Regions from separate parts of the Homo sapiens genome. Here region 2 is linked to region 1. Evidence: promoter capture Hi-C in 16 types of primary human blood cells and fetal thymus (Javierre and others, 2016). All regions are on one chromosome and are shown on one strand. The core of a region is centred on a gene start or on the middle of the fragment in contact, and the rest is flanking DNA. Distances in the headings are between cores, read along the strand shown.

Evidence for each region. Contacts are between HindIII fragments. The CHiCAGO score rates a contact against its expected background, and 5 or more counts as called.
Region 2: a contact is called between a fragment that was not itself captured here and the fragment with the promoter of FLACC1 in region 1, in 1 of 17 cell types (endothelial precursors). The highest score is 5.8, in endothelial precursors.

Annotation. Positions count from the first base shown.
Region 1 is chr2:201,355,481-201,359,602 of GRCh38, reverse strand. It overlaps FLACC1 (flagellum associated containing coiled-coil domains 1), which reads left to right and starts at 2,258. Exons shown (of 15, transcript NM_001127391.3): 1 at 2,258-2,621. The HindIII fragment of the contact is 10,294 bases long and covers 1-4,122 here.
Region 2 is chr2:201,249,302-201,253,423 of GRCh38, reverse strand. It overlaps a transcript of CASP8 not described here. Among named protein-coding and RNA genes, the nearest start is that of CASP8, 9.2 kb to the left of the region's middle. The HindIII fragment of the contact is 1,795 bases long and covers 1,509-3,303 here.

The DNA.
Region 1 (4,122 bases), core at 1,009-3,508:
TTAATAAACCTCTTTGATGTAAGCCACTTGCAATCAAGCAACAGGTCTATGCATTTTAACTACACATGGCCCACACTGAGAAATCTTGTCGTAAATACTGGTGTCCTCAGAGCTCTGTTCTAGACCCTCTTCTCTCCTTACACAATACTCTCTCTATATGTGATCTCACTCGCTCCCTTGGCTTGGAATAGTATCCACTCTGAAGACTCCTAAATCTGCTTCTAGGCCAGAATCTTCCTCTGAACTTCTAAAATATGTAAGAAACTCTAACAGACGTCACCACTTGTCTATTAGTCTCCCTGCACCTCAACATATCCAAAACTGAACTAATAATCTGCTCCCTAGAACCTGTTTATCCCTCCACACTTTCCTATCTCAATAAATGGCACCACGGTCAACTCAATTGCTCGAGCTGGAAAGCCAGGAATCATCACCTTCTCCTTTTCGCTCATCCCAGCATCCAGTCAATCACCAAGTTCTATCATGTCTTCTCTCCATCCCCACTGCTGCTCCTCAGTCAGGGCCATCGTCAGGTCCCATGACGACCACTGCCACAGACTTTTACCTGGTTTTCCTGGCCCTTCCAATTGCTTCCCTATATTGCAGTCAGAATGATCTTTCTGATATGTAGATCTAGTCAGATCTCTTCTCTGTTTAACACTGCTGCCTGACTCACTGGACTAGAAGAGTAACTCCTGCTATGAACTCCCACTGCTTCTGGCAAGTCTCAATATGAGTCATTGTGGCTGCATGGTGACTTACACCTGTAATCCCAGCACTTTGGGAGGCCGAAGCAGGAGGATCACTTGAATTCAGGAGTACAAGACCAGCCTGGACAACATAGCAAGGCCTCATGTATACTAAAAGTCAAAAAAATTAGCTGGGCGGCCGGGCGCAGTGGCTCACGCCTGTAATCCCAGCACTTTGGGAGGCCGAGGCGGGCGGATCACGAGGTCAGGAGATCGAGACCATCCCGGCTAAAACGGTGAAACCCCGTCTCTACTAAAAATACAAAAAAATTAGCCGGGCGTAGTGGCGGGCGCCTGTAGTCCCAGCTACTTGGGAGGCTGAGGCAGGAGAATGGCGTGAACCCGGGAGGCGGAGCTTGCAGTGAGCCGAGATCCCGCCACTGCACTCCAGCCTGGGTGACAGAGCGAGACTCCGTCTCAAAAAAAAAAAAAAAAAAAAAAATTAGCTGGGCATGGTGCTGTGCACCTGTGTAGTCCCATCTACTTGGGAGTCTGAGGCAGAAGGATCGCTTGAGTCCAGGAGGTCAAGGCTGCAGTGAGCTATGCATGCAGCCTGCACTGCCACTGCCACTGCACCGCAGCCTGGGTAACAGAGTGAGCTACTGTCTCAAAGGAAAAAAAAATTAATTATGCTTTTATTGAGCTTTTTTATTGTCTGTTTTCTCATTGGTCTCTAAGTTGTATTGAGTATAAGAACTGAGGTATATCCCCACACCTAGCAATAGTGCCTGGCACACAGTAGACAACAAATGTGAAGTTGAGTGAATAGATGAATTTATAACAATATTTTGTAAGCTAGGGGTTGTGACCCACCAGGATCATGAAATCAATCTAGTGGATTATAATCAGCTTTAATTTAAAGAAGAAAAAGAAATAGAAGAGAATAGCAAATAATAAGAGTATTATTTCATGAAATTTTTTTATTACAAAATTTGTAAAATGTATTTCTTATAATGAGTGGCAGTAAAACTAAAATGAAAGCCACTGGGTTGTAATAAGCAAGTACTTTTTTCTATAGTAAGAAAAAGCAGCTTTATTTAAAAAAAAAAATCGGAAAACCTTGTGACTGCAAAAGATTCCTGCCTTGGGGGATTTTTACTTTCACAGATTTCAAAGCCTTAAACTCGAGGGAAAAAAGTGTCTAGAGTTTTAGGTTTCTGTGAGTAGATCACAGAGGAATTAAAAATCCATCACAGATCCTGCCTGGTAACTATTGCCATAGACCAATGAAGCCTAAAAGTGCTGTTGAATTCTATTTCCTCTGAAGATATATCTTAAACTTTTTTGTCCCATGACTGATGACGAAAGTGGAAATCCAGTGTTAAAAGTATGAATTCTTTGCTGTTGAGGGTGGTCACTGATTTGTGTCTTGGAGAATTTAATTGGCTGTTTCTCCCAACCTTCTCTCTTGAAGAAAAGAGCCCTGAGCCAATGAGGAGCTACTGTTCTGTGTCCATAGCAACAAAATAAACAAACTTTGGCCTGCCATCTCCCAAGGGCAAACCTCACAACTCAGGCCCAAGTCACAGGAATCTGAATGGTGGGGTGACCTTCTCCTCTAGTTTAATTTCATTGCAATACTGAGAAACTTCAACTGTTTTGTCTTTAGAAGGGAAATTCATGTTTGTGCCAGGCCAGCCTTTGTAAAAGCCTTTGATTGGATTCACTAGAAGTCTGTCTTCCCGCAGTACATATACTGTGAATTTTCTCCTTCGGCATTTCAACCACTTGGAATGGCCACTAAAGTGGCTTTTGATCTAAAGTAAACTCTGATTCTGTGTTGATGGGGAACCATTTCTCTCTAACATGGTGGTTTCTTTAAGATGTTTGACTTGGGCCACATGAGAATAACAGATCTTTGGGCAGTCCAAGGTAAGCTCTTTGGAAAAGATGTTTTATATTATTTTTTCTACTGATTATTAATACTAACCAGTAACTTCTCTGAAGCCTCTGCCGGCTCACTGGTGACTATTGTTAGGGCAAGCCTCAGGTAAAATCATCAGGTAGAAGTGCAGGAAAGGGAAAAAAGGGGGAGAAAAAATCCTTACACACACTCACACACCCCTCTATAATTAGAGCTATATGATGTCAAGCCACTGTAAATGCAGATCTATCTGTGATGACATGGAAATATCAACTAGATATCCTGTTACACAAAAAGAACAAGATGCAACATTGTGTGCAAAGTATGCTCTCACTTATGCAAATAATTTAAAAAATCTATTATGCTTCTCTACAGGTTAAGTTCTATATGCAAAACATTTAAGGTTATATGCACTCACAACATTTCTGGAAGGATGCCCCAAAAATCTGTTAGAAGTAGTTCCCACTTAAGAAGCTATGAGAAGTCAAGGGCTGATTTTAGCTACTGAAATATTAAAATACTGCCATATAGGCAGGGCACGGTAGCTCACACCTGTAATCCCAGCACTTTGGGAGGCTGAGATGGGTGGATCACCTGAAGTCAGGAGTTTGAGACCAGCCTGGCCAATATGGTGAAACCCCATCGTTATAAAAATACAAAAATTAGCCAGGCATGGTGGCGGGTGCCTGTAATTCCAGCTACTGGGGAAGCTGAGGCAGGAGAATCGCTTGAACCTCGGAGGTAGAGGTTGCAGTGAGCCAAGACCACACCATTGCACTCCAGCCTAGGCAACAAGAGCAAAACTCCGTCTCAAAACAATAATAATAATAAATAAAATACTGTCATATTGATTGGTAGATGACCATTGTCCAAGCCCCTTGCATGTCCTCCTTGCCACCTTGGTTGTCCCAACTCCTCCCCTGGCACCCCCAGACCACCTCATGATTCAGCAACTAAGGGGTTAATGCCTGGCATGGAGGTGGGAGTGAGATCTCCCAGGACCCTGTTCCAACCCTGGTTGATTATTCAATAGCCTTGTCTTACTGGTTGTTAAATATTTTGAGTATCACTCCCATGGGTGTTCAAAGAAAAAGGCCTTTATTTTTATTTTATTTATTTATTTATTTTTTAGAGACAGGGTCTTGTGCTGTCACCCAGGCTGAAATGCAGTGGTGTGGTCCTAGCTCACTGCAACTTCAAACTCCTGGCCTCAAGTGATCCTCCCGCACCACCTGCCAAGTGGCTGGGACTACAGGCACACTCCACCATACTAGGCTATTTTTAAAATTTTTTGTAGATACAGAGTCTCGATATGTTTCCCAGGCTGGTCTCAAACTCCTAGCCTCAAGCGACTCTCCCACCTCAGTCTCTCAAAGTGTTGGGATTACAGACATGTGCCACCACACCTGTGAGGCCTTCTTTTTTTTTTTTCTTAAGAGCAAAAGAATATATACCAAGACATTGTTTATCATGGGAAAGAGGAAAAGGAAACAACTACACATTCATCAA
Region 2 (4,122 bases), core at 1,157-3,656, 110 kb after region 1:
CAGGAAGACGTTGAAGAAACGAAAGCTCAGAAAAGTGAAGTGACTCTGAAGGGCCTACATAGCTACTGTAACCTACATACAGCACTAGTGACTGTTTCTTAAAAAAAAAAAAAAAAAAAAAAAAAAAAAAGATCAGGCTAGGTGCAGTGGCTCACATTTATAATCCTAGCACTTTGAGAGGCTGAAGTGGGAGGATCACTTGAGCTCAGGAGTTTAAGATCAGCCTGGGCAACATACTGTCTTTACCAAAAATCAAAAAAATTAGTCGGGTGTGGTGGTGCAGTGGTGGTGCACACCTGTGGTCCCAGCTACTCAGGAGGCTGAGGCAGGAGGATTGCTTAAACCCAGGAGTTCAAGGCTGCAGTGAGCTATGATTGCATCACTGCACTCCAGCCTGGGGGACGGAGCGAGCCCCTGTCTAAAACAAAAAAAAATCAGATGTTGGGAGGGTTATTCCCTGAAACAGATATTTTCTCCATTAGGTTTCACTCCTCACTTTCTGTAAAGAAAATTCCTTTTTTTTCCCCCTCCATAATAAGTGGATTTTAAGAGTATCTGTGGTAGTAACAAAACACATTCACTACAAAATGAATTAGGCAATTATTTCTTTCCTCAAAACTGTTAGTGATAACACCACGTATTCTCAGTAGATCTAGAAGGTGGGTTATAAAATTAACTTTTCGTGGTTTACAACATATGACACAAAATCCTAGTTTCTGAGAAAATGAGTCATCTCTCACCTGACATGACATGTTGTTGTGGGGGACCAGATGTTCTTTGAGATCCCCCTTCAAAAGATACAGTTAAGAGTGAAGAGACAAACCACAGATTGGGAGAAAATGTTTGCAAAACAAAAGACCGTTACCCAAAAGCGTACAAAGAACTCTTAAAACTCAACCATACTGGTGGATCACGAGGTCAAGTGATCCAGACCATCCTGGCCAACATGGTGAAAGCCCGTCTCTACTAAAAATACAAAAATTAGCTGGGCATGGTGGCACACACCTGTAGTCCCAGCTACTCGGGAGGCTGAGGCAGGAGAATTGCTTGAACTTGGGAGGTAGAGGTTGCAGTGAGCCAAGTTCATGCCACTGTACTACAGCCTGGTGACAGAGCGAGACTCTGTCTCAAAAAAAAACAAAAACAAAAACAAAAACCATGCTGTTATCCAAAAATATACAAAGAACTCTTGACACTCAACAATAACAAAACAAACAACCCAATTGAAAAGTGGGCAAGAGATCTGAACAGATACCTCACCAAAAACATATACAGATGGCAAATAAGCATATGAAAAGATGTTCAACATCATATGTCATTAGGGAATTGCAAATTAAAACAACAGTGAGATACCACTACATATTTGCCAAAATTGCTAAAATCCGAAACACTGACACCACCAAACATTGGCAAGGATGTGAAGTAACAGGAACTCTCATTCATTACTCGTGGGAATGAAAACTCATACGGACACTTTGGAAGAAAGTCTGGAAGTTTGTCATGAAGCTTTTTTTTTTTTTAGACGGAGTCTCACTCTGTCTCCCAGGCTGGAGTGCAACGGCAAGTGTGATCTTGGCTCACTACAGCCTCTGCCTCTGGGTTCAAGCGATTCTCCTGCCTCAGCCTCCCAAGTTGCTGGGATTACCGGCATGACCACCACGCCCAGCTAATTTTTGTATTTTTAGTAGAGACAGGGTTTCACCATGTTGGTCGGGCTGGTGTTAAACTCCTGACTTCAAATAATACACCTGCCTCCGCCTCCCAAAGTGCTGAGATTACAGGTGTGAGCCACTGCGCCTGGCCATTTTTTTTTCTTTTTTTTTTTTTTTGACACAGAGTCTCACTCTATTGCCCAGGCTGGAGTGCAGTGGCGCCATCTTGGCTCAATGCAACCTCCACCTCCCAGGTTCAAGCGATTCTCCTGCCTCAGCTTCCTGAGTAGCTGGGATTACAGGCACACGCCACCACGCCCAGCTAATTTTTGTATTTTTTTTAGTAGAGATGAGGTTTCACTGTGTTAGCCAGACTGGTCTTAAACTGCTGATCTCAGGTGATCCCACCTCAGCCTCCCAAAGTGCTGGGATCACAGTCATGAGCCACCGCGCCTGGCCAAAGCATATGCTTACCGCAAGATCCAGCAATCACGTTTCTAGATATTTACCCAAATTGAACATTTATGTCCATGCAAAAACCTGCACATGAATGTTTATACCAGCTTTATTCATAATTCATAACTGCCAAAAGTTGGAAGCAACCAAGATGTCCCTCAATAAATGAATGGATAAACTGTGGCACATCCATACCATAGATTATTATTCAGCAATAAAAAGAAATGAGCTATCAAACCACGCAAAGGCATGGAAGAGCCTTAATTGAATGTTACTATGTGAAAGAAGGCAATCTGGAGAGGCTACATACTGTATGATTCCAACTATGTGACATTCTGATTAAAACTATAGAGACAGTGGTTGCCAGGGACTCAGGGGAGGAAGTGTGAATAGGTTCAGCACAGGGGATTTTTAGGGGAGTGAAATTATTCTGTACAATATTGTAACGGTTCTACATGGCATTATTCATTTGGCAAAACCGGTAGGATGTACACCAAAAGTGAACCCTAATGGAAACTATGGAACTTTAGTTCAGAATAATTTATTGATGGGATTCAGGACGTGCTACCACAAAATATGGCACCACGACTGACATGGTTTGGATTTGTGTCCTCACCCAAACTCATGTCCAGTTGTAATTCCTAATGTTGGAGGCGGAGCCTGGTGGGAGGTGATTGGATCTTGGGGGTGGTTTCTAATAGTTTAGCACCATCCCCACAGTGCTGTTTGCATGATAGAATTCTCATGATATTCTGGTTGTTTAAAAATATGTGGCACCTCCCCGCTCTCTTGCTTCCCCTGCTCTAGCCACATGAGATGTCTCGCTCCCCCTTTGTCTTCCACCATAATTGTAAGTTTCCTGAGGCCTCCCCAGAAGCCAAGCAGATGCCAGCATCATGCTTCCTATACAGTCTGTGGAACCATGAGCCAATTAAAACTCTTTTCTTTATAGATTGCCCAACCTCAGGTATCTCTTTAGAGCAATGCAAGAACAGACTAACACAATGACATATTGAATATTTTAAGGTGAAGGAATTTGCAAAAGCAGCATGTGCAGGAAGGGTTTTCTGACCTTCTCCTGAAGCCAGGTCATAAGACCCTCAGGTGAGAGATGCCCTCCCTATACCTGGTGGTATCTGTGAAGACAAAGGGACACAGAGAGGAATCTAACTAAACAAACGGGCCTTGATAAGCTTCTGCCAGCGGACTACACTTACTTCAAACTCTTTGCTCTATCATATCCTCCACAACTGTCCACCCTTTATCAAACCTACATCAAACTGTAACTGCTTCTTGGAGTCTTCATTTCCTTATAAAGGCTTCCATGTCACATAAAACTTAAATATGTTTATGCACTTTTCTCTTATTAATCTGTCTTCTGTTATAGGGTTCTCAGCCATGAACTTAGAAGGGTAGAAGGAAAACAGATTTGCCCTCCCCTACAATATCAATATTGGTTCATCACTTGTAACAAATGTACCACACTAATGCAAGATGTTAATAACGGGAAAGTGTGGGGAGGGGAGAAGTGTAGGAGGCAGAGGGTATATGGGAACTCTCTACTTTCTGCTCTTTCTTTTTTTTTCTTTCTGAGACAGGGTCTCTCTCTGTCACCTAGGCTAGAGTGCAGTGGTGTGATCTCAACTCACTGCAACCTCCGCCTCCCGCGCTCAAGCGATCCTCTCGCCTTAGCCTCCCGAAGCCAATCTGATTAAGCTAATCTGTTAAGACTCAACAATAAGAAAACAACCCGATTGAAAAGTGGGCAAGAGGTCTGAACAGACACCTCACAAAAAGATACGCAGATGGCAAATAAGCATATGAATAAGCTGGGACTACAGGTGCATACCACCATGCCCAGCTAATCTGCTCTGTTTTTTCTCTAAACCTGAAACTGTTCTTAAAAAATAATCCATTAATTTTTTAAAGTCTCACACTCTATTCTCACTTGATACATGGGTAAAGGTGACAATGAGGTGAAGTGAAAAAAGGATCGTCTTTATAGTAAATAACG